Linked DNA regions of Homo sapiens: all the other regions are linked to region 1. Evidence: promoter capture Hi-C in human tissues and cell types (Jung and others, 2019). All regions are on one chromosome and are shown on one strand. The core of a region is centred on a gene start or on the middle of the fragment in contact, and the rest is flanking DNA. Distances in the headings are between cores, read along the strand shown.

Region 1 (2,858 bases), core at 1-2,500:
CGCAGTGGTCCATGCCTGGAATCCTAGCAGTCTGTGAGGCCGAGGCAGGAGGATCGCTTGAGGCCAAGAATTTGACACTAGCTGGGGCAACACAGCGAGAGCCCTGTTTACAAACACACACACACACACACACACACACACACACACACACAGAAAAAAAAAGCTAAAAATTAAATTTAAAAATAAATAAATGGAAACAGCCAAAAAAGATCAAAAGGGGGTGGGTTGCAAGTGAGAACATGTCCATGGAAGTCAGTCCGCTATCAGACGCCCTGTGGCTCTCCCAGGTGCAACCAGAAGAAAGCTGTAGAGGGTAGGAAGCAGTCATATCTAGCGATTCTTTCCAGGCTAAAGGAGCTGGATAAGTGTCATCCAGCTGGAAAGTGCACGTGGTAGGAAAAGGCAGTCAAAAAGAGAACTAGCCAAGCAAGGCCTTTCTTCTGGGTTTTTCCAGCAGGAATCCTAAGTGACGCCTGCCCCGCTCCCCGACCCTCCTCTACCAAATAATCCCATCAAGGTGGCTGGTTTCAACACTTCATTCTTTCCTCTTCCCAAGGACCCCAATTCCTGGCCCTTCTACCCTTAAACTCTTTCCTGGCTCTTCTGCACTTCATCCAGTCCGGGGATCCTGCCTCCTGCATGCCACCCTAAGATGTGGTTAGAGGTAGCGCAAGGCCATCTCCCCAGCCAGTGGTCCCTGAGGCCCCTCTGTCAGTCTCCCACTTCCTATGTCCCCATCCCCAAGGCCCAGTGCGCTGTAGGCTCTTCCTGCCTTGCCCCCCATCCCTAAGGGTCCTATGCCCAGTACCCCACTTCCCCGTGATCTTTCCTCCATCCCTGGTGCCATCCCCATCCTCCAGGCCCCGTGTCCTGAACTCTTTCCGGGGACCGCTTCCCCTCTCGGGTTCTCCCGAGCGCCCAAGGCAGCCAGCGCCAACCTTTGACATTCTCTGAGGCCTCTAATAATCTGGTCGGAGTTATTCTGAGGCGGGAATCCTTCTTTAGAGACTTCATGGTGCCGCCCGGCACCATGAAACGTTGCCCTGCACCGCCGGCCCAGAGACACCGAGGCTGCGCCGCACCCGCCAGCCAACGGCCGCCACTGCGTCCACAGCAACCGGTGCCCCGCGCGGGGGCGCGCATCCACCGATCAACTTGGGCGGAGACGGCTTGGAAACCTCCTTCTTCATCGGGCCGCGCACGCGCCCGCCGCCGGCGGCTTCAAGAGCGACGGACCCCTAGAAAGCCCTGCGGGCCCGGCCTGTGACGCCACAGGCGGCGCCGACGAGCGCCGTGACGTCACCAGCCGGGCGGGGCGGGGCGGGGGACCCGGGCGAGGACCCCCGCGAGTTGCGGGAGCCGAGGGCTGGGTGGGAGTGGCTGGCTGGTAGGGGTGCATGACCCGCCTCGCCCCGCCCTGCTGCTAGGCCACGGGGGGCGGGTGGGGCGTCGGGGGTGCCAGCCCCTGCTTCCCGCCTTCCTCGACTAAGGCCACATCCTGTCGAGGGACCTCCCTCTGCCCCCCTCACAGCGGTTCTGGGGGGGGATCGGGCCTTTCAGGACGTGCTGAAACCCCTTCGTGGCGTACCGTAGGTTTTAGGTGTCCCTGCCTGCCGTCCCCAACTCGCACCAACGCGCCTGGAGACCTCCCGGGTCCACGCTCGCTGCAGCCACTTTGGCCTTTCATCACTTCCCAAACCAGCCAAAACTTTTGCCCTGACTTGGGGCATTCTCACAGTCCTTGGAGATGCTGCCTCTGATTATTTTAAGTTTATAAACGCACCCGCTTTTTTCGCCTTCCCCTGGAGCCCTGAGGCATTCTGGGATTATTTCGGTTTTTTGTGTAGTTGCCTATTGTCAAACTGGCTCTCAGAATGTATGAGAGCAGGAGCTGCCTCAGGCCCTGCCCCCAACCCAAAGTTTAGCACTAGTAGTCAGGCAGTAAATTGTACCTCAAATAGTGAAGGGGTTCTAGAGCCAGACAATTGGGTTCTAATCCCAGCTATGTCGGCTTGTTAGCTGTGTGTTCTTGAGCCAATGCCTTGACCTAGAGAGCCGGTTTTCTCTGCTGGGCACAGTGGTTCAGGCCTACAATCCTAGTGCTTTAGAAGGCTGAGGCAGGAGGATTGGTTGAGGCCAGGAGTTCAAAATTGACCTGAGCAACGTAGGGAGACTCCATTCTAAAAAAAAAAAAAAATTTTTTTTTTTTTTTTTTTGAGACGGAGTCTTGCTCTGTGCCCAAGCTGGAGTGTAGTGGTGCCATCTCGGCTCACTGCAACCTCTGCCTCCCAGGTTCAAGCGATTCTCCTGCCTCAGCCTCCTGAGTAGCTGGGATTACAGACGAGTGCCACCATGCCTGGCTAAGTTTTGTATTTTTAGTAGAGATGGGGTTTCACCAGTTGGTCAGGCTGGTCTCGAACTCCTGACCTCGTGATCTGCCCGCCTCGGCCTCCCAAAGTGCTAGGATTACAGGCGTGAGCCACCGTGCCTAGCCTAAAAAAATTTTTTTTTAATTAGCTGGCTTTGGTGGCCCACACCTGTAGTCTTAGCTACTCTGGAGGCTAAGGCAGGAAGATTGCTTGAGCCCAGGAGGTCCAGGCTGCAGTGAGCTCTGATTGCACCACTGTACTCCAGCCTGGGCAACAAAGTGAGATCCCCATCTCATACATCCATACATACATATATACATACATAAAATGGAGGTCATAATGCTGCTCTCACAAGGCCACTGCCAGGGTTAAATGAATATGTATGTATTTCTTTTTCTTAGCGAGTATCTCACTCTGTTGCCCAGGTTGGAGTGCAGTGGCACAATCATAGCTCACTGCAGCTTCAAACTCCTGAGCTTAAATGATCCT
Region 2 (2,952 bases), core at 141-2,640, 170 kb after region 1:
GATGAGATTGACAGTAGTGTATTAGTCACATATACTCATAGCCCAGGGCAGGATATCACACACCATGCAGGGCCACACAGGGGTTGCGCTCAGAGACAGTGAGCAACTAAGGGCTGTGGGAGGCAGGCTTTGTAGTATCAAGAGGATGAGATGTCCCCTAGTTTCAGCAGGAAGATGTGACTGGCTTATGTGGATAATTATGCAGGCTGCAGGCTGGCAGGAAACTGAAACCCACTACTCAGGAATAAGCAGGAAGTGCTCCTGGTCCCCTTGATAAGGGGGGTTATTTGGCTGGGGGACCTTATCCAAGGGAGCAGAGTGAGGAGGTGAACTTGTGGCTAGGCCAGTCAAAGCCTCCCAATTTCACCGCATATAAAGTCAGTATCAGCATTTAATACTGCGCCTGAGTTTTAGGCCTTAAACGCATTTTGCTGTTAATTTTCCTTTCAGGGCTATATAGACTGTTCGTCTGCTATAATCTTCCTTAATAATTTAGAAAGCAAGAATTAGAATTCTTTAAAAAAATTTTTTTTTCTTTTTTTAGACAAGGAGCATCTTACTATATTGCCCAGGCTGGCCTTGAATTCCTGGACTCAGGTGATCCTCCCTCTTCAGCCACCCAAGTAGCTGGGACTACAGGTGTGCACCACTGTGCTAGCTCTAGAATTCTTTTTAAAATTCTACTTGTGTTTACTTACAACTTTTCAGATAATTTTAATGTGACATTGTTCCTCAGTGGGTAGGCCTGTGCAAACCTGTCGCCAAAGTCCAAGGAAACTGAGAGACTGAAGAAAAAGGCTGACAAATTCAGTTTCTTAGAAATAAACAATAGGAAATTAGAAACAGAAGCCAGGTCTGTGTCTTGTGCAGTGGCTGGCAGGGAGACAAGATGTTACCCCCTAAGACCCAGGGCTTATCTACCACAGGGAAGGGGTATATGTGATCCAGAAGGCAGGTGAAGGACAATTGAAGTATGATAACATCAAAGTTGTTTTGACCTAAGGGAGGTAAGTACCTGTTCTTACACAGGTAACAATAGATAGACTGGAAAGCTTAGAGGAATTCCCAGAATTGGGGCTAATCAGAAGTCATCATGGCGGCTTAGCCTCCAATATGGAGTTGCTTTAGCCTTCACAGATATTCAATGATCACAGTCCTCATAGAACTATAATTTTTATTTCCCATTGTAGAAAATTAGTTTCTCCCTATTCATCCCCACTTCTTTTCTCTCTCTACTATGTGAACAAGGATCATTCTCACTTGTTAAAAGTTCATCTGGGGTTATGAACTTTGTCATTTTGGTTTATAATGTAGCTAATTTCTTTTAAGGGAATAATCTCTCTTTTTTTTAATCTTCAGTTTTGAGACTATTTAAAAATATTTAGAGTAATGCATATATATTAACTTGTTCAATGCCCTTTGCCAAGTAGATAATTTAAAAAATTACTTCCTGAGGCAGGCAGATAGCTTGAGCCCAGGAGTTTGAGACCAGCCTGAGCAACATGGCAAAACCCCATCTGTATTAAAAATACCAAAATTAGCCAGATGTGGGACTACCGTCGGTAGTCCCAGCTACTCAGGAGGCTGAGGTGGGAGGATTGCTTGAGCTCAGGGGAGTGAGGCTGCAGTGAACCATGATCACACCACTGCACTCCAGCCTGGGTGACAGAGCAAGGCCCTGTCTCAAAAGAAATAGTTCAAAAATTTCAAAAATAAGGCAACGAATTAATTAAAAACTGTTTCAGAACAGCCAATGATCTCCCTTTCTTTCCCCTCTGCTCTCTACTTAGAATTAACCAGCCTGGCCCGTTTGCTTTGTTGCTTCCACATTCTTCTCTCTGCTCATATAAATATATGCAGATGTCAACCCTTTGGTAGGTTTCCACTCCATGTTTTACAGAAGTAAGATGATACAGAAATTACCCAACACTGTGTTTTTAAATAAATCATCATTTTATCATGGATACCCCTCCAGGTTAATACATAATAGCTACATAATGTTTATTACTTTAGTATAGATACACCATAATTTATTAAGCCATTCACCTGTTATTGGGCATTGAGGTCATTGCTAGTTATTTTGCCCCTACACATATGGCTTCAAGAAGCATCTTAGTTCATATCACCTGATATACTGGTGTCTTTATTTTTGTATGATAGATTTCCAAGAGTGAGATGGGTATGTACATTTCTCTTTTAAAAGATATTGCCAGAACATTGCAAAAAGGTGCTAGCAATCTGTAGTCTTGAGAAGACATGAAAACTCTCCTTCCCCTAAACCTCTAAGCAGGTGCTTCAAGCTAGATATTTTTCTCATTCTTGAGTATTTACATCTGATTTTTTCTCTACTGTCCTGGCATACATCTTCAAGTGATTTATTAAAGAAGAGTATTCAGGAGGGATTCTTTTAAAAATAACTTCCACACCTGAGGTCTTTTTGTTGCCTTCATACATGAATGACAACATGGCCTATCCTTTAGGTTTTTCTAGATCAGTGTAGTTCAAACTACAGGTCACAACCCACTCAATTTAAAGGATTATGGCTACATTTTAAAAAACATAGAATGGGGGTGGGACATGGTGACTTACACCTATAATCCTAGCACTTTGGGAGGCCAAGGCAGACGGATTGCTTGAGCTTAGGATTTTGAGACCAGCCTGGTTGTCTCTACTAAAAAAAAAAAAAAAAAAAAAAAAAATTGGCCAGGTGTGGTGGTGCATGCCTGTAGTCCCAGCTACTCAGGAGGCTGAGCAGGGAGGATTGCTTGAGTCTGGGAGGTGGAGGCTGCAGTGAGCCATGGTTGTGTCACTGCATTCCAGCCTGAACGACAGAGTAAGACCCTGTCTCAATGAAAAATAAAAAAAAATAAGTTAGTCGAGCATGGTGATGTGCACCTGTAGTCCCAGCTACTTGGGAGGCTAAGGTGGGAGAATCACTTGAGCCCAAGGGTT
Region 3 (2,796 bases), core at 136-2,635, 130 kb before region 1:
CGGCATGACAGTGCCACATTCAACTGTTCTTTTTTTTTTTTTTTCCCCACTGTAATCTTGACCTCTTGGGCTCAAGCGATCCTCCTGCCTCAGCCTCCTGAGTAGCTGGGACTACAGGCATGTGCCACCACGCCCAGCTAATTTTTTAATTTTTTTGTAGAGATGGGGTCCCACTATGTGGCCCAGACTGGTCTCGAACTTCTGGGCTCAAGTGATCCTCCTGCTTCGGCCTCCCAAAGTGCTGGGATTACAGGCATGAGCCACTGCACCTGGCCTTTATGATTCTTGTTTTACTGCCTCTTCCCACTAGAGTATATGCTCCACGAAGACAGATTCTTTAGCTCTGTATTCTGCAGTTGATGGTATTTCCTGTTGCTTAGAGCAGGGCCTGGCACAGAGAAGGTACTCAATAACCATCTATTGAACAAAAGAATGAATAAACAAATGAATAGATAAATGGAGGGTGCCAACTCCAGCCGCAGCCTCTGCAGCTTCATGCCCAGGAACACAGTGTTCTCTCCCTGGTACCAAGGCCACAGTTCTTGGCACCCAGAAGGGTCTCCAACTCAGTTATGTGTAAAATGAAGGTGAGGACAGGGCCAGTGAAGGTTATTCCCTGGACCCTGTAACACTCCCTGAATCCCTGCAGGGCAGGATGACGATCCCTACTCAAGGCTCTCCTCTCATTCCCGCTCTGAAGAGCACTGCTGGGAGGTGAGAGCTGAGCCCACAGCCCCCTCCCCCACCATCACCCACACAGTTTCCACAGCAACAACAGCTTCCTTAATAATGCGATTAAACAGCTGGATGGGGCTGATAAGGGGTAAGGTCCCACATCCAGAATGGACCACGTGGCAGAGGCCCCCTCATGGCAGACTTCATGGTCACTGAAGCTGAAATCACTGCAGACTCATACAGGCGATGGGGGCGGGGGGTGAGGACCCCGGAGCCCTCTGCCCCAGCTTTGCCAGGGACTTCCCAAGCCCTGGGGGCCCCAGGCCTGTTGACAGTCTCTGTCATGAGAAGAGTCATTACTTCCCTATTCCTGTGTGGTACTGGAGAAGGAAGCCACCACTGCAGGGCAGCTCCTGAAGTCCCAGATAGGGAAGGGATGAACAGACAAGACCATTGACTCAGCAGCAATGAAGGCGTGGAGAGAGCAAGGACACGTGCTGATCCCCACTCACCCTCCCTCAGCCTTTGGAAGGCCTGGGGGCAGGGGTCAAAAACTGGCTGTGCTGTAATCCCAGCACTTTGGGAGGCCGAGGAGGGTGGGTCCCCTGAGGTCAGGAGTCTGCGACCAGCCTGGCCAACATGACGAAACGCTGTCTCTACTAAAAATATTTAAAAAAATTATCTAGGCATGGTGGCGCATGCCTGTAATCCCAGCTACTCAGGAGGCTGAGGCAGGATAATTGTTTGAACCTGGGAGGCGGAGGTTGCAGTGAGCTGAGATCACGCCACTGCACTCCAGCCAGGGTGGCAGAGCGAGACTCCTTCTCAAAAACACAACACAACACAACAAACAAACAAACAAAAACTGGTTGTGCTGCGCCTGCTGGCCCCTTGCAGGGATGGCTCACGGGCTCAACTGGCCAATGTGCTTCTGGAAGGGGCTTTGGTTCACTGAGCTCCTGCTGTGGGCCAGGATGATCATTTCACGCTCATGACAGCTGACACCCAGGGCTGATGCTGGGATTAGACCCAGAGAGTTTTGTTCCAGGGCCCAGCTCCTTCCCACAGGATTAGTGTTTCCTGTACACCTGGTAGGACTCCGGCATGATGTCCCACCCTGGGGATAGAGCACTTGCACCCAGATCACCTTTCAGCCATGCAGCCCATTCTCATATCACCTGCTTTTTGCAATTATTCTCACAGAGCTGAGGGAGCAGAGCGGCTAACACCTGGGTAGTGGCCTAGCTGGGGTTCTGGGAGCCCCTGACTAGAAACCTGAATATCCAGTTAGGAGAAATCTGGCTGAATGCGGTGGCTCACGCCTGTAATCCCAGCACTTTAGGAGGCTGAGGTGGGCAGATGACTTGAGGTCAGGAATTTGAGACCAGCCTGGCCATCATGGTGAAACCCCGTCTCTACTAAAAATACAAAAATTAGCCGGGCATGGTGGTGTGCACCTGTAATCCCAGCTACTTGGGAGGCTGAGGCAGGAGGATTGCTTGAACCTGGGAGGTGGAGGTTGCAGTGAGTTGAGATTGTGCTACTGCACTTCAGCCTGGGCGACAGAGCAAGACTCTGTCACAAAAAAAAAAAAAAGGAGAAATCCAAAATCCAAGCCTAGAGTTAGGCTCTCATTCACTATCCCACCCTGCCCCCTGCCAGCCCCAACCACTGCACCGCAGTACCAGAAACAGAAACAACTTCAGTTCGGGAAGGGGAGGGGCCCAGCCACCCCAGCAATGGCATACCAGGTCTCATTTCACCCCCAACTCCCCAGGGATCCTGCCCCAATGGAGAGGACTGAATACAGTCCGGGTGCTCTGGCCCTACTCCGGGGTGGCTCAGCTGGTCATCCCTGCCAAGTCCTTCCTCCCTGGAAGCCTGCCCAGTGTTTCAAGACCATTTCCCTGTCTGGGGACTACAGGCGGGCTTGGCAAAGCTCCCTCCTGAATGCCACTTCCCTGACTCACTTCCTTCCCCGTATCTCTCTGGCCCTCAGGGACCTAAGGCCCAGGTGAAGTGGGGGAACAGCAGGATTGAGGAGAAGCCAGCCTGAGGCCACAAGCAATGAAATGCCGTAGCCAGAAGCCAAGAGCTCAGAGGTCAAAGCCATCCAGCACT
Region 4 (3,022 bases), core at 3-2,502, 250 kb before region 1:
GGGGAAGAAATAGATCAGCTACAAAACTCTTGAATTTTTAAAATAGTAAATTCAAAATTCTGATACAACAATGAAAAATACATTTACTTCTCTGCTTTGGCTTACTTGAAATGTACTTTTTAAAACTACAGGTTCAACTTAAAAGTGCTCTCCTTTATCTCAAAATAAATGTTTCTAAATATTACCAGGTAAAAACAGCAAGACTCAGAACATACGGGTATACCGTCATATATTTTGAAAGATCTATACATATATGTTTATATTTCCTCCCACCTCCCATCTCCCCACAAAGAAAACAACTTGGAAGAATAACTGTTAACAGCAGCAAGCTCCTGCAGAGGAAAAACAGAGAAATAGGAGTAGTAGGAGACATAGATCACTGAACACTTTTTTTTTTTAACCATGGGCAACATTACAATTATAATACAAAATTTCAAAAGTAGACCTGGGGTTCTTTCACAAACAACTAAAAAATCCCTCAGGAAATCAAACTTGAAAACCAATCCTGCATGAAGTCCCATCCCACAGAATTGTATACATAATAACTTCAAGTGTTTTTTGTTTCATGCACATATCAGATGTTTAAAAACATATTCACATAGCCCATCTGCAATGCATTTTTAAAAACAGAATGGATGAGGGCTCAGAGAACTTCCACCATAAAAATTTTCAGTTCTTACAAGTCTGAAAACTTTAATCAGAAGGTGGCTGAGCTCAACCAATATGTGGTCCAAGTGTTCTCAGACCTTAGAAATAAGGTTGGTTATTTATCCTCTGTGACACTAACTATATTTAAGGAACCAGAATGCCTAAGGAGAGGGAGTAAAAATATCTGAGCTGAGCAATATGACTAGGTTATTATAAGCTCAAGATCAAGAAAAGGATGTTTCAACCCAAACTGAAAAATGAATGGACTGTGTTTGAAGGGGAAAAAAAAACGTTTTAACAAAAAGGAGCATGATATGTATTATCTCTACATTCCAGAGGAGAGGATGTCTTGAGCAGCAGACTGGTCGGTCCTCTTGAAAGGCTCAATGAAAATTAAACTATTGGACCAGTGCTAATATAGTTTGATGACCAACAAAAGTTTACCCAATTTGTTTTATACTAATGAACTGTTATTTAAGAGGTCTTTGTCTTTTAGAGATACATGCTGAATTATTTACAGATTAAATGGTGTGTCTGAGACTTGCTCGAAAATAATAGAAAACAGTGGATACAAATACAATCACTCATGAAGTATAAAAGTGGTCATGAGTCTTGTTGGTGATGAGTTAACAGAGGTTAATTATATTGTTCCTCTTTTGTGTATGTCTTTAAATTTCCAAAATAAAGTTTTTTTTTTTTTAAGACCAACTGATTGCAGATTCCAAACTTACCAAGCAATCTGATTGATTAAAACTGGTTTGCTCCCCTTAAAGACCTTCCAAAGAGAAAATACATATTCACCAACTAATAACTTTTTGGTCTGCATGGCAGAAATGTTTGTTTCTTCTAGTGAACTGGTCTCAATACTGGATTCTTGTGAGCTGGTTAGCAACAATCAGTTCCTCTTCAGTCACATCAATTTTGGGTGTAAAATTCAACTTCTACGTCTCTCTCCATAACTAAAGCCAGGCCTTAGTCATAGATGTCCTGGGGAGGCAGGTCCTCCTCCCACCACCCCCACATCCCAGGTAACTTCAATAGTTACAATATATCTAAGTGTCCATAGAGGAAGCCTTTTCATATGAACTCATTTATTATACTTCATTTAAGTTAGTTAGACGTTGATTCTAGATGAGGCAGAGCAGAACAAATCTGGTATTTTAGTAACTTCCTAGATTTTTTATTACTTAGGGACAGAATATGGTTTAAAAACTATCACTTTAAGTCCTTTGCTGCTACAACCACAATGCTGTCAAACTACACAAAGCAGTGCCTGGGAGCTATCTTTGTGTTTGTTAGATTTTACTTCCCATTTTATCTTAATCCTCATGTGAATTATCTCTTACAAATTCAGAGATAACCCATTCATCTATTGCTGCATCTCCAGGATCAGCTAGGGAGCCAGGAGGGCTCTGTCTCCACAGCATTTTTTCATACAGAGCCTCTAAAGTGGGGGCGGCTTCATTATTTTTCAAAGTTTGGTGGAAGAGATTTTAGTAAATTCTTTAACAATTCATTATGCCTATTAGAATGAACACAGTGGCTTAACAGGCACTGGACCATGAGGCAGAGACCTAGCAACTCCATAAACATGAAGCCACAGGACCCTCCCTGGATAAGTCATTTAACACACTGTTTCTTTACCTATAAACTGATAGCAGTATTTGCAAGTTATAAACCACAAGGAATTGCTATGATATATATGTATGTGTGTATATACGTAGCTGGAGAGAATACTTTTATACAGTCGAAGAAGCTGGCTATAGATAGAAACATGCTGCCGGTTTTCCTAGATGTGACACAAAAATAATCACTTAAGTGGGGGGAAAAAACCCTTGCCATATATACTACACACCCTATACACAAATACATTTATAAACTGACACAGCTGGGTTAATCTTGATACAGGACTTAACAAAAACTAGCTCTTGAATGCTTTTCTACATCATCCCATAGCTAGCCAGCTAAAGAGTGCTTGTCAGGATACTTGGAATTTTCTACTAAATGAATCTCTCAGGGATGTAAAAATATATTCTAGTTCACTGCACATCTTTGCTATTAAAAGCAAAATTCAAATTTATTCATAACCACCTAAAATTGAAGCACCATTATTTAAAACATTAGAAAGTCTATAAAAATTAGTCTTAAACAGAACAAATCAGATAAAACTGTACACCAACACCTCTAGTAATAGTGTAACTCTTGTATTTAAAACAGGGGACTAGTTCAGAGTCAATAACTTTATTAGAAAAAGATTAATACTAAAACTTTTCAATGACAGAGACAATCAACTTTGTAACAGAAAGTCAGAGATACTTTATTTTTACTTCTAAATCCAAAGGCTAAGTAGAGCAGAGTTGTAAAAATGAAATCC

What was found. The method cuts DNA at HindIII sites, captures the fragments that hold promoters and counts their contacts. A contact is called where the count stands out against the background at its distance.
Region 2: a contact is called between a fragment that was not itself captured here and the fragment with the promoter of MYCBPAP in region 1, in 1 of the 25 tissues and cell types used here (aorta).
Region 3: a contact is called between a fragment that was not itself captured here and the fragment with the promoter of MYCBPAP in region 1, in 3 of the 25 tissues and cell types used here (dorsolateral prefrontal cortex, lymphoblastoid cells and neural progenitor cells).
Region 4: a contact is called between a fragment that was not itself captured here and the fragment with the promoter of MYCBPAP in region 1, in 1 of the 25 tissues and cell types used here (stomach).

What each region holds. Positions count from the first base shown.
Region 1 is chr17:50,506,831-50,509,688 of GRCh38, reverse strand. MYCBPAP (MYCBP associated protein) reads right to left here and starts at 1,250. Exons shown (of 19, transcript NM_032133.6): 1 at 939-1,250. The coding sequence starts at 1,014. RefSeq lists enhancers at 1,025-1,154, 1,175-1,234 and a silencer at 1,255-1,544. The HindIII fragment of the contact is 18,604 bases long and covers 1-2,858 here.
Region 2 is chr17:50,335,334-50,338,285 of GRCh38, reverse strand. No RefSeq gene overlaps it. Among named protein-coding and RNA genes, the nearest start is that of XYLT2, 9.3 kb to the left of the region's middle. The HindIII fragment of the contact is 7,744 bases long and covers 1-2,952 here.
Region 3 is chr17:50,639,243-50,642,038 of GRCh38, reverse strand. The region is part of intron 1 of ABCC3 (ATP binding cassette subfamily C member 3); the gene reads right to left. Among named protein-coding and RNA genes, the nearest start is that of ABCC3, 5.8 kb to the right of the region's middle. RefSeq lists enhancers at 1,017-1,311, 989-1,759, 2,209-2,796. The HindIII fragment of the contact is 6,297 bases long and covers 1-2,796 here.
Region 4 is chr17:50,752,563-50,755,584 of GRCh38, reverse strand. LUC7L3 (LUC7 like 3 pre-mRNA splicing factor) reads right to left here. Exons shown (of 10, transcript NM_016424.5): 10 at 1-3,022. Among named protein-coding and RNA genes, the nearest start is that of ANKRD40CL, 13 kb to the left of the region's middle. The HindIII fragment of the contact is 7,164 bases long and covers 1-3,022 here.